2 separate regions of the Homo sapiens genome follow, and region 1 is linked to region 2. The links are contacts of gene promoters, found by promoter capture Hi-C in human tissues and cell types (Jung and others, 2019). All regions are on one chromosome and are shown on one strand. The core of a region is centred on a gene start or on the middle of the fragment in contact, and the rest is flanking DNA. Distances in the headings are between cores, read along the strand shown. Region 1 overlaps ZSWIM5 (zinc finger SWIM-type containing 5). Region 2 holds the start of HPDL (4-hydroxyphenylpyruvate dioxygenase like).

Region 1 (5,452 bases), core at 587-3,086, 150 kb after region 2:
AGTATTCCATGGTGTATATGTACCATGGGATGTACCTCATTTTCTTTATTCAACCCACTGTTGGTGGGCACCTGAGCTGATTCTATGTTTTTGCTAATTTGAATAGTGCTGTAATGAATATACAGGTACACGTATGTGTCTTTTTGGTAGAATGACTTATTTTCCTTGGTTGGATTTACTCCTAAGATATTTTTTTCTTTTTCATGCTATCATAAATGGAATTGTTTCCTTTATTTCATTTTTTAATTGTTTGTTGCTAGTGTATATAGATAGAAATATAACTGATTTTTGTATGTTGATCTTGTACCCCTAACCTTGTGGAATTCATTCATTTATTTATTTATTTTAATTTTAAATAGTATCTTATTGAATGTTTTATTCACAGAAAAATAAGCTTTAATCTACAATGAATGCCAGATTATACAGCAGAGAGCAGTTTTCTTAGTTTTCCACACTGATAGAAAGGTTCTTACTAAGTGAAAAAAGCCATAAAATTATATTCACCAATAGAGTACTCTGTCTCAAAACATTCCACATGATTGTTCACAATACTAATACAATTAAATCAGTCATTTACGTTAAAGTATAACAGTGATAAAAAATGCAAAATCTAATATAAATTACATTAAAACTTTTGTTATATCAAATCAGAAATGCAAATTTCTTACTAAATACAGAAAAATGGTCAAATATATAGTAATTTAAGATATTACATTAATGATACAGAATAGGAAAGTGGTAAACTCCAAAAATCTATAGGCATATCTGCAAACTTCAGACTTCAAAGTAGAATCTGACCACCCAAACATTAATGTAGCATTTGTCTAATTTTTGTTTTGTTTTGTTTCTGAGACGGAGTCTCACTCTATCACCCAGGGTGGAGTGTGGTGGCGCCATCCTGGCCCACTGCATCCTCCACCTCCCAGGTTCAAGCGACTCTCCAGCCTCAGTCGGTCGAGTAGGTGGTACCACAGGCATGCGCCACCACACCCAGCTATCCCTTCATTTCTGCAAAGACAGGGTTTCAGCCTGTTGGCCAGGCTGGTCTCCAACTGCTGACCTCAGGTGATCCGCTTGCCTCAGCCTCCGAAAGTGCTGGGATTACAGGTGTGAGCCACTGTGCCCGGCGCCATTTGTCTAATTTGAAGATACAGTTGTCCCTTGCTATCCGTGGGGTTTTGGTTTCACAACCCCCTAGGACCTGAGGATGCTTAAGTCCCTTAGATAAAATCACATAAGGCCGGGTGTAGTGGTTCACGCCTGTAATCCCAGCACTTTGTGAGGCCAAGGCAGGCAGATCACCTGAGATCAGGAGTTTGAGACCAGCCTGGCCAACACCCTTGTGGAATGAATTTATTACTCAAATAGAGATAAACTTTTATCTTCCTTTCCAATCTGGAATCCTTGGTCCTTATCAAGTCACAAAACTCAGTGTTGTTTGTGCCATAGAATGCATTGTATTAAGGGATTTTTCTGCTTGCATTAGACTGGGAAATGCTTTTTAATGTGCTATTGTGTTATTAAAGAATATGATCCCAGGGAAGCAAGAGTGAGAGAAAATGAAATGAGACAGGGAAGGAGGGTAAGGCAACATAAGGATGTGTCATAGAGCTGGTTACTGCTTGGTATCAAGTAGCAACTGATTGCTCAATCTCCCCGAATTGTCTTATAAAGCAGCAGAGAGAATCCCCTTTTATGCCCATCTTTCATTTCATGAGATTCAGACCTGGGAAATATTTTGCTATTAAAGGTATATTTTGCATACCCCTCTGTAACTTTCACCATTATTGATTTCACAGTTTGGGTTGTAGGAATTGTAGAAATTGCTCTATTGCTGTTACCACTCTGTATAACCTGCAAACTTAAGTACCTTAAATTCCCTGTGTATATGGTGTAGGTTTTTCAGTTCCAATGTGGAAAAGGGGGTTGGCCATAGTTCATAGCCTTGTTAGAGTCTATAACAACTCTTAATGATTGGAAGTGTAAAATAAATAAGAACAAGCATTCAGTACATTTAAGAAATTTTTTTCTTTTTCAGTGTCATATTCTTTTCTTCTTTCCTATTATTTTCTTTAGTGTTTATTCCTTATTTTCTGCATACGTTTTAGAAACATAATCACTGTATAGCAAAATAGCTAATTATGAGGTGTCATACAATGATACTGCTCTTCTCTTCCCTCCTCTCTCTAGTTCCTGAATCCTTAATCATTCCCTTTTCTTCTGACTTCCCTTCCTGAAAACTTTAGTCCAAACCTGGGAGAAGCAAGAGAAAAGGAAGTGAGATGGGAAGAAGGGATAGTAGCAGTGGCCTGAAAGGGTATATTGGAGCCCAACTGGAGCAGTGGCCTAGCATGGGGTGCTAGAGCCAAAGTGGGGTGAGGAGGGTATCCACATGAAGGGGGATATAATTTGAGATGTCAGAGTCTGAAAGGGTTGAGGATGACTTTTGTATAGGGGTGAAGGGGAGTGTAGAGCCATAGGGTGTTAGTGTTCAGATGGGGTGAAGTGGGCATAGCAGGGGGTGGCAGCAGTAGGTGCAGGTTTTTTGAGCTTGAGCACAGTGAGAAGAATGTCCTTATTGGCAGGGAGGAGCTGTGGTGGCAATGAAAGATTGGTTATTTATAGATATTGATCAACTAAGTAAATCAATTAAGGATAACAGGAGCCAAATTTCTCACTATCAGAAAAAGTAGCTAAAATGTAGACCAGGCCGGGCGCGGTGGCTCATGCCTGTAATCCCAACACTTTGGGAGGCCAAGGCGGGTGGATCACCTGAGGTCATGAGTTCAAGACCAGCCTGGCCAACATGACGAAACCCCGTCTCTACTAAAAAATAGAAAAATTAGCTCGGTGTGGTGGCATGCACCTGTAGTCTCAGCTACTCAGGAGACTGAGGCAGGAGAATCGCTTGAACCCAGGAGGTGGGGGTGGCAGTGAGCCAAGATTGTGCCATAGCACTCCAGCCTGGGCAACAAGCAAGACTCCGTCTGAAAAATAAAATAAGATAAGAAAAGATAAAGACCAGGGAGAAAAGGTGAATGAACTCTGGGTTTTGGATTGTAATTGGAGATACCCACGTGAACTCATGGTTTTTAGTATATATTGGAATATATATATAATATATATTATATATATATATGGCATTCAGTTAACTGAGAGGGCCTTAGAGCAGTAATATCCCAATAGCAATAAGCACACCTAATGCCCATATCTTGGTTTCCAAGTACTTTTCTCCGATAAAAGGAACAAAGCCTCCTTGGAGAAATGGCTGAATTTAGGGGTGAGGCAGAGAAAGTATCAAATGAGCCTTGAACATGTTCTTGTGCCAGAAAGCAGGGAGGTTCTTAAAGAATTATAGCAACACATCAAAAAGGATACAAAAGCCAGCTTTGAAGAGATTCCCATTAGCCAAATATGGGATGAATTGAGTGTCAAAATAATGATAATAATGGATATAACCAACCCATTGAATGAAATAGAAACCCATGAGTTCATTGTGTCAATGGTTTTTTTTTTTTAAAGGCCAGGTGCCATGGTTCATGCCTATAATCCCAGCACTTCGGGAGGCTGAGGAGGGAAGATCACATGAGCCCAGGAGTTTGAGACCAGCCTGGGCAACATGGCAAAACACCGTCTCTACAAAAATTTTAAAAAATTAGCCGGGCATGGTGGTGCATGCCTGTGGTCTCAGCTACTTTAGGAGGCTGAGGTGGGAGGATCGCTTGGGCCCAGAAGGTTAAGGCTGCAGTGAGCTGGGATTGCTCCACTGCACTGCAGCTTGGGCGACAGAATGAAACCCTGTCTCCAAAATAAAATATTTTTAGAAAGAGTAAGTTGAAAATTTGATGAGTATATTGGCATAATGTCAATATGGTTCCCATGAGATACTTTAATTATAAGGGGAAAAAGGTAACTTTAAAGTGAGGAATCCAGGCAAACACTACTGTGATCAAATGAGCAAAGTTAACCTCACCAGTGATGGGAGAAATCAAAATTGTGTGCCATTTGATAGGAAACAATAAGAACATGGCTCCACTTCTATGATATTACTGCCAAAGATAGATAACCTGAATCTAATCATGATGAAATAACAGGCACTACTGAGGGACATTCTTCAAAATAGCTAGCCTGAAGTCTTCGTAAGTATCAGAAGTCAGAAAGTTAAGACTACAGGTGGTTCCAGATTGAAGGAGAATAAGGAGACATAAAAACTAAATGCATTGTATGACTTTGGACTGGATCCTTATGGGGACATTTTTGGGGCAATTGGCAACAGTTGAATGGGGCCTGTGCATTATATGATAATGTTATGGTATTGATTTCTGATTTTCATGATTTTTATAGTTCTGTAGGAGAATATCTTTGAAGGAAATACACAAAAAAAGTATTCTGGGGTGATAAGGCAGTACGTTGACAACTTACTCTCCAATAACTCATTTAAAAATTATTTGAACTGTACTTGCAACTTTTCTGTAAGTTTGAGATTGTTTCAAAATAAAAAGGGATAAATATGATAATCTTTTTCTTTTTTTTGAGACAGAATCTTGCTCTGTGGCCCAGGCTGTAGTGCAGTGGCGCGATCTCAGCTCACTGCAAACTCCACCTTGCAGGTTCAAGCAATTCTCCTGTCCCAGCTCCCCGAGTAGGAGAGTATTTTGTATTGGGTGTGTCATGCCCAGCTAATTTTTTTTTTTTTTTTTTTAGTAGAGTTGGGGTTTCACCATGTTGGCCAGGCAGGTCTCAAACTCCTGGCCTAAAGTGATCCGCCCACCTCGGCTTCCCAAAGTCCTGGGATTACAGGTGTGAGCCACCTCACTGAGCTGATAATGAACTTGAATGAACTTTGATTAATAGTGAGTACTCCTCCAATTACCTATTTATTTTGAATTGTTTAAGAGAATATGTTTTTCTTAGCTTACATTAAAAATCTCCAATTATTTTTATTAAAAGATCACTTTTGAATGTTTTAGTTTTATTTCATATTTTGTTTTGTTTTTTTGAGACAAGGTCTCGCTTTCTCACCCAGGCTGGAATGCAGTGGCCTGATCTTGGCTCACTGCAACCTCTGTCTCCGGGTTCAAGCAATTCTCCTGCCTCAGCCTCCTGAGTAGCTGGGAATACAGGTGTATGACACCATACTTGGCTAATTTTTATATTTTTTGTAGAAATGGGGTTTTACCTTGTTGGCCAGGCTGGTCTCAAATTCCTGACCTCAAGTGATCCACCCACCTTGGCCTCCCAAAGTGCTGGCATTACAGTCGTGAGCCACTGCACCCAGCCTTCATGTTCATTTTAAAGGTTAAATTATAATCAGTACAAACATACGTAACTCATCTAATTTCATTTTAAATGATATTTGGTTCCTACTCAGATTATAAGCTAAAGTTTTTTAAGCAATTATGTCTTTATTGGTTATATAAATTTACAGTCTTTTAAAGCTGTGTAAATATTG
Region 2 (5,959 bases), core at 327-2,826:
AAGAAATGTTTTAGTTTTAAAAAATCCCACCTCTTTGGAGCCCAATGAGAGACACAGCTTCTGGCAGGCACTGATGAAATGGAAGTCACACCTGCCCCCCGGAGGCAAAGCCTTTCACTAGTTGGGCCTCCTGCAGATGTTCCTCAGTTCTGTGCTGGTCTCCCCAGAGCTGCAGGACAGCTGGCTGCACCCAGCCCTGGGCATCCTTAGGCTTCCTGGCTCCTGGCAGATTGCTCCTGTACGGACTGCCACAGAGCTCTGATGTTGCCCTGACCAAAGCCAGTGGCCCCCTGCCTCTGAATCAGCTCCAGGAAGAAAGTGTCCTCAGTAAAAAGGGACTTGGTGAAGACCTGAAGCAGAAACTTGCCTTTATCACCATCTAGCAGGATCCCCTGTCGAGCAAGCAGATGAGGCTCGTGCCCTGCAGCTCGGATCTGCCTCTCCTTTCCTGGCTGCTGGTAGTATGCCCCAGGGGGAGCCAGGAACTGGCCTCCAGCAGTTGCCACCCCCTCAGTGGCCTCCACAATGTTAGGCGTATACAGCCCCACGTGCTGCAGGCCTGGCCCCTTGTGCCGGGCCAGGAACTGCTCCACCTGGTCCTGTCGTGTCGTCGCCCCCGGAAGGGACTCAGCCAGAACAAGAGTGGGGACAATGCTGCCCGGCTGGGCCTGCAGGGCTGTAAGCCTCAGTCCCCCAAGCCCAAACCCTGCTGTCATTTCGAGGCCCAGCTCGGGATCCTCACCTGGGCTCAGCGGCAAGTGGCAAAAGCCCAGGCAGTCGTGGAACCAGCGCAAAAGTGTGGGGGAGCTGCCGGGGGTGCAGGCCAAGGTCAGGTGGTCCACGCGGCTGACCCACCCGGGGCCAGGCGCAGAGGACACGGGCCTGAAGCCGGGTAGGAAGGGTCCGCGGTAGCCAGCGCGCTCCAGCAAGGTCAGGCTGAGGATGCCGGCAGGCGAGCTGACCACGGCGTAAGTGGCGGCACCCTGCGCGTCCCGCACGCGAACGGGAGGGACAGGCACGCTGCAGCCCAGCGCTGCCAGCTCCCGGGTTGCAGCGCCGGCGTCCGCCACGTCGAAGCACAGGTTTGTGGCGCTGGGCACGGCGTGACGCGGATCCAGGCCGTACAGCGGCTCTCCAGACCCTGCGCCCTCGTTCACCAAAAAGACCGCGTCGCCGCTGCGCAGGGCTAGCTGCCGCCAGCCGTCCACCTCCCGCGAAGCCAGGGGCTGGAAGCCGAAGAGGCGCTGCAGGTTCCGGGCTAGGGGCTGCCCGGCGGGCACGTGGAAGGCGATGTGGCACAAACGAAGGGCGGGCGCGGCCATGGCGCTCTGGACGGCGACCTAGACTTGTCCTTCTGGGGCCGCTTACTTGTGGTTGGGGACTTCGGGGCTCTCAGTCCTGGGCTGATCGTCCGGAGTTGGGGAGTCCGGCTCACCCCGCAGAGCGCGTTCCTCGCTTTCTTCCGGAAAGAAGTCACCCGCCGACCCCTGAGAGCTCGCGGTTCTCCCTGCAGCGCCACCCCAGCCAGGAGCAGCGTCTGGACCACCGGGTCTCAGTGAGCCGAGCTGCTGGTTGTGAGAACCACGCGGTGCCTGTGCTCGCGCCAAGCAGGAGAAAGAGGGCGGAGCCCGTGACTCCGCCTTTGACTCCCCACCCCCTCCCCCACACCCTGTCGCCTCGGATACTGCGGGGTCGCCGCGCTGCTCTTTCCCCGGGCCTCACGCCTGGTCACATCCTTGGGCACTGAGCCTCCCTTCCCCAGCCCAGGAACTCACAATGGCTGCCTTCACTCGGCGCCAGGCACTGGGCTCCCACTCATCCCCCCAACCTCACAGCGAAGGGACTCAGCCCGGGTTCAGGGAAAGAGTTGGAATTCTCTCTCCACAAGCACGGAATTTTTTAGCACTTTCATGTTTTTTCTTTAAGTTCTGGAGTTTGCCTCTAAGTCTTAATGTTCCCTGGAATACACACACACACACACACACACACACACACACGTTTATATGTTTTGAGACAGGGTCTCACTCTGTCACCCAGGCTGGAGTGGCACAATCACAGCTCACTGCAGCCTCCACCTCCTGGGTTCAGGCGATTTTCCTTGCCTCAGTGCACAAATAGCTGGGACCACAGGCGGACGCCACCACACCCAGCTAATTAAAAATAATTTTTTTTTTTAGAAATGGGGTCTTGCTATATTGCCCAAGCTGGTTTTAAACCCCTGGGCTCAAGCCATCTTTCCACCTCAGCCTCCCAAAGTGTTGGGCAATCTCTCAACCAGTCCTGTCTCTTTCTTCAATCACCCTTCTGTCAACATCATTTAACCCCTTGTCCCAAGCAAGATTTGGAGGAAAAATCTGACGGTTCGGGATCTGAAAGGAACAGCTGCCTGGCTGTCATTCCCCTTCCCCATCCTTTGAGGACTGGAACACAGGCCCTCCTTGCTCTTTGCAGCTTCCTGACTTGGCATTGAGCCAGAGATTTCTGTGGTGGGGGCACTTCTGGCTCTGAAACCCAGAATTGTGTGAGATGACTGGATTGAGGAATTTGTAGTCTTCTGGAACTTCAACTGAGTGGCCCTTGAAGGGTTAGGGAAGGGCATCCAAGAAGGGCAAAGGGCATAAGCAAAAACTCAGTAAGAGTGTGAGCCAGACTCTTAGAGGAGCAATGGGCCATGCTGTTAGGGAGGCATTTAGGATGAATGCCACAGTCCAAGGCATCACAAGAAATTTTTTTGTCAGGCAGCCTGATCTACTGGGTTTCATTGGCAAGAGGGAGAAGGATGTCATAGGGGACAGGGGCTAGCTGGATGTCATGGTGTTCAGGCCTGCAGGCAGGAGGGCAGTACCCAGGAGCTGGTCAGGGTGGTAAAAGGTACTTGGTGCTACTCTGCAGACCAGTGAATGTGAGGACATGAGTTCCAAAAGCCAGACGGACCTGGGTTTGAATCACCAGCAACACTTACTGTCTGTATGGGCAAGTTGCTTAACGCCTCTGAGCCTTAATTTGCCCATCTGTAAAAATGGAAATAATAGTACCTACTTCAAAGAGTTGTGATTAAGTGAGGTGGAGTAAGTGTTCAGTAAATAGTAGCTGTTGCTATTGTAGTTACTGTTTTTTTTTTTAATTAATTTTATTTTCCCACATATTCTAATATTTATTTATTTTAAAAAGTTTTTCAGAGCTGGGCACAGTGGCTCACACCTGTAATCTCAGCACTTTGGGAGGCTGAGGCAGGCGGATCACCTGAGGTCAGGAGTTCAAGACCACCCTGGCCAACATGGTGAAACCCCATCTCTACTAAAAATACAAAAAATTAGATGTAATCCCAGCTACTCGGGAGGCTGAGGCAGGAGAATCACTTGAACCCAGGAGGCGGAGGTTGCAGTGAGCCAAGATCATGCCATTGCACTGTAGCCTGGGCAACAAGAGAGAAACTCTGTCTCAAAAAAAAAAAAAAAGAAAAGAAAAAAGTTTTTTTAGAGATGAGGTCTTACTCTGTCACCTAGGCTGGAGTGTAGTGGCATGATCACAGCTCACTGCAGGCTCCAACTCCTGGGCTTAAGCAATCCTTCCACCTCAGTCTCCCAAGTAGCTTGGGACTACAGGTGCACACCACCATGCCTGGCTATTTAGTTATTGTTTTATTTTATCTCATGATACAATGCCAGTGGTACCTCCCAGAAGGTGTTGTGTGGCCTACTAGAGAGATGGGGACAGGGGCTTCACTGGCATGGGCCAAAGGCTAGGCAGCCTACTCAATGAGCAGCTCACCCCAAGGAATCCTGGGTAGTAAGAAAGGAAAGTAAATCTTGGGGGCCCCAAATCACTAAGCTAAAAGGAAAAGTCAAGCTGGGAACTGCTTAGGGCCAATCTGCCTCCCATTCCGTTCAAAGTCACAGTAAGAGTTAAAGAAAGAGGAAAGAAACACAAAAAGCAGCTCAAAAATCAAACCTGAGAGGGGCTTCTGGCTGATTTCAGTCAGGAGTGCTCTCTCTTACAGACTATTTATTTATTTATTTATTTATTTATTTAGAGATGGATTCTCACTCTGTCACCAGGCTGGAGTGCAGTGGCGAGATCTCAGCTCACTGCAACCTCCGCCTCCCGGGTTCAATCGATTCTCCTGCTAGCCTCCCAAGTAGCTGGGACTTACAGGCACGCACCACCATACCCAGCTAATTTTTGTATTTTTTTTAGTAGAGACGGGTTTCACCATATTGGCCAGGATGGTCTCAATCTTTTGACCTCATGATCCGCCTGCCTCCACCTCCCAAAGTGCTGGGATTACAGGCGTGAGCCACCGCGTCTGGCCCAGACTAACAGTATTTATTGGAGAGAGCTTGGAATGTTTCTGTGTCAGGGAGAAGTTTATGGTGGAGTTGGAATGTCTCTGGTTGGAGGGGAGGTTATCTTGAGGCTGACACCTCTCCAGCCGAAGGGGAGGTTATCTTGGGGCTGGCATGTCTCTGGCTGGGGAGGGGCTTGGAACGTTTCTGGTCAGAGATGTCATTTGTGGTTTATGGTCATGCTGACCTTAGCCATTAGGCTGATGCCCTTTGGATTTAGGCAGTTTTTGATCAAGGCAAAACTTAAAATGGCAGTGCTTGTCCAAGATGGCAGTGCTCCTGCTCCGTCAGTCCAGACTCTATAGTGATAAAAAGGACGGGGGCAGCCAGGTGCAGTGGCTCACACCTGTAATCCCAGCACTTTGGGAGGCCAAGGCGAGTGGATAGCTTGAGGTCAAGTATTCAAGACCAGCCTGACCAACACGGTGAAACCCCATCTCTGCTAAAAAAAATACAAAATTAGGCCAGGCGCGGTGGCTCACGCCTGTAATCCCAGCACTTTGGGAGGCCGAGGCGGGTGGATCACGAGGTCAGGAGATCGAGACCATCCTGGCTAACACGGTGAAACCCCGTCTCTACTAAAAATACAAAAAATTAGCTGGGCGTGGTGGCGGGCACCTGTAGTCCCAGCTACTCGGGAGGCTGAGGCAGGAGAATGGCGTGAACCCAGGAGGCGGAGCTTGCAGTGAGCCGAGACTGAGCCACTGCACACCAGCCTGGGCGACAGGGCGAGACTCCGTCTCAGAAAAAGAAAAATTAGCCAGGCATGGTGGTGCACGCCTGTAATGCCAGCAAGCTGAGAGGCTGAGGCAGGAGAATTGCTTGAACCCAGGAGGCGGAGGTTGCAGTGAGCCGAGATCGCACCATTGCACTCTAGCCTGGGCAACAAGAGCGAAGCTCCATCTCAAAAAAAGAAAAAAAAAAAAAAGGGCCGGGTACGGTGGTTCATGCCTGTAATCCCAGCACTTTGGGAGGTTGAGGTGGGTGGATCATCTGAGGTCAGGAGTTTGAGACCAGCCTGGCCAGCACAGTGGAAACCCCGTCTCTACTAAAATACAGAAATTAGCCAGGTGTGGTGGGCGCATGCCTGTAATCCCAGCTACTTGGAAGGCTGAGACATGAGAATCACTTGAACCCAGTAGGCGCAGGTTGTAGTGAGCAGAGATCATGCTACTGCACTCTAGCCTGGGTGACAGAGTTAGACTCTGTCCCCCCCAAAAAAAAAAAAAAAAAAAAGAGGGGCGGCATGTTCTTTCTGGCTACTTCCTTTTGACGGGGATGGAGAGTTTTCTGGTTTCGGATTGACTATAGGAGTAATGCCATCTGTAGATGTTTTGGGGTAGTTGTCTGTGAAATGGCCATGATCCTGTCAGTTAAAAATCCTTGAAAAAAGTTTATTAGGCAGGGTAAGAACATTAGTCCTGGGCATATTATTAGGAGATGGCCCAGGAATGGGGATGACTCATGCTACGATTTTGTTCCCAAACCAAGAATCCATTTGGTTGTTTTGGTATTCCCTTAGCTTTTTAGTTCTTTCTTGCCGAGACCAGCTCGGTCGGGGAGACCCTAACCCAGCGGCGCTAGAGGAATTAAAGACACACACACAGAAATAT

Evidence for each region. Contacts are between HindIII fragments. The study calls those that stand out against the background at their distance.
Region 1: a fragment that was not itself captured here is called in contact with the fragment with the promoter of HPDL in region 2 in 1 of the 25 tissues and cell types used here (adrenal gland).

What each region holds. Positions count from the first base shown.
Region 1 is chr1:45,173,821-45,179,272 of GRCh38, reverse strand. The region is part of intron 1 of ZSWIM5 (zinc finger SWIM-type containing 5); the gene reads left to right. Among named protein-coding and RNA genes, the nearest start is that of ZSWIM5, 30 kb to the left of the region's middle. The HindIII fragment of the contact is 4,739 bases long and covers 1-4,205 here.
Region 2 is chr1:45,322,512-45,328,470 of GRCh38, reverse strand. It overlaps HPDL (4-hydroxyphenylpyruvate dioxygenase like), which reads right to left and starts at 1,576. Exons shown (of 1, transcript NM_032756.4): 1 at 1-1,576. The coding sequence starts at 1,322. The coding sequence ends at 207. RefSeq lists enhancers at 365-474, 1,235-1,484, 1,495-1,544 and a silencer at 4,280-4,574. The HindIII fragment of the contact is 17,678 bases long and covers 1-5,959 here.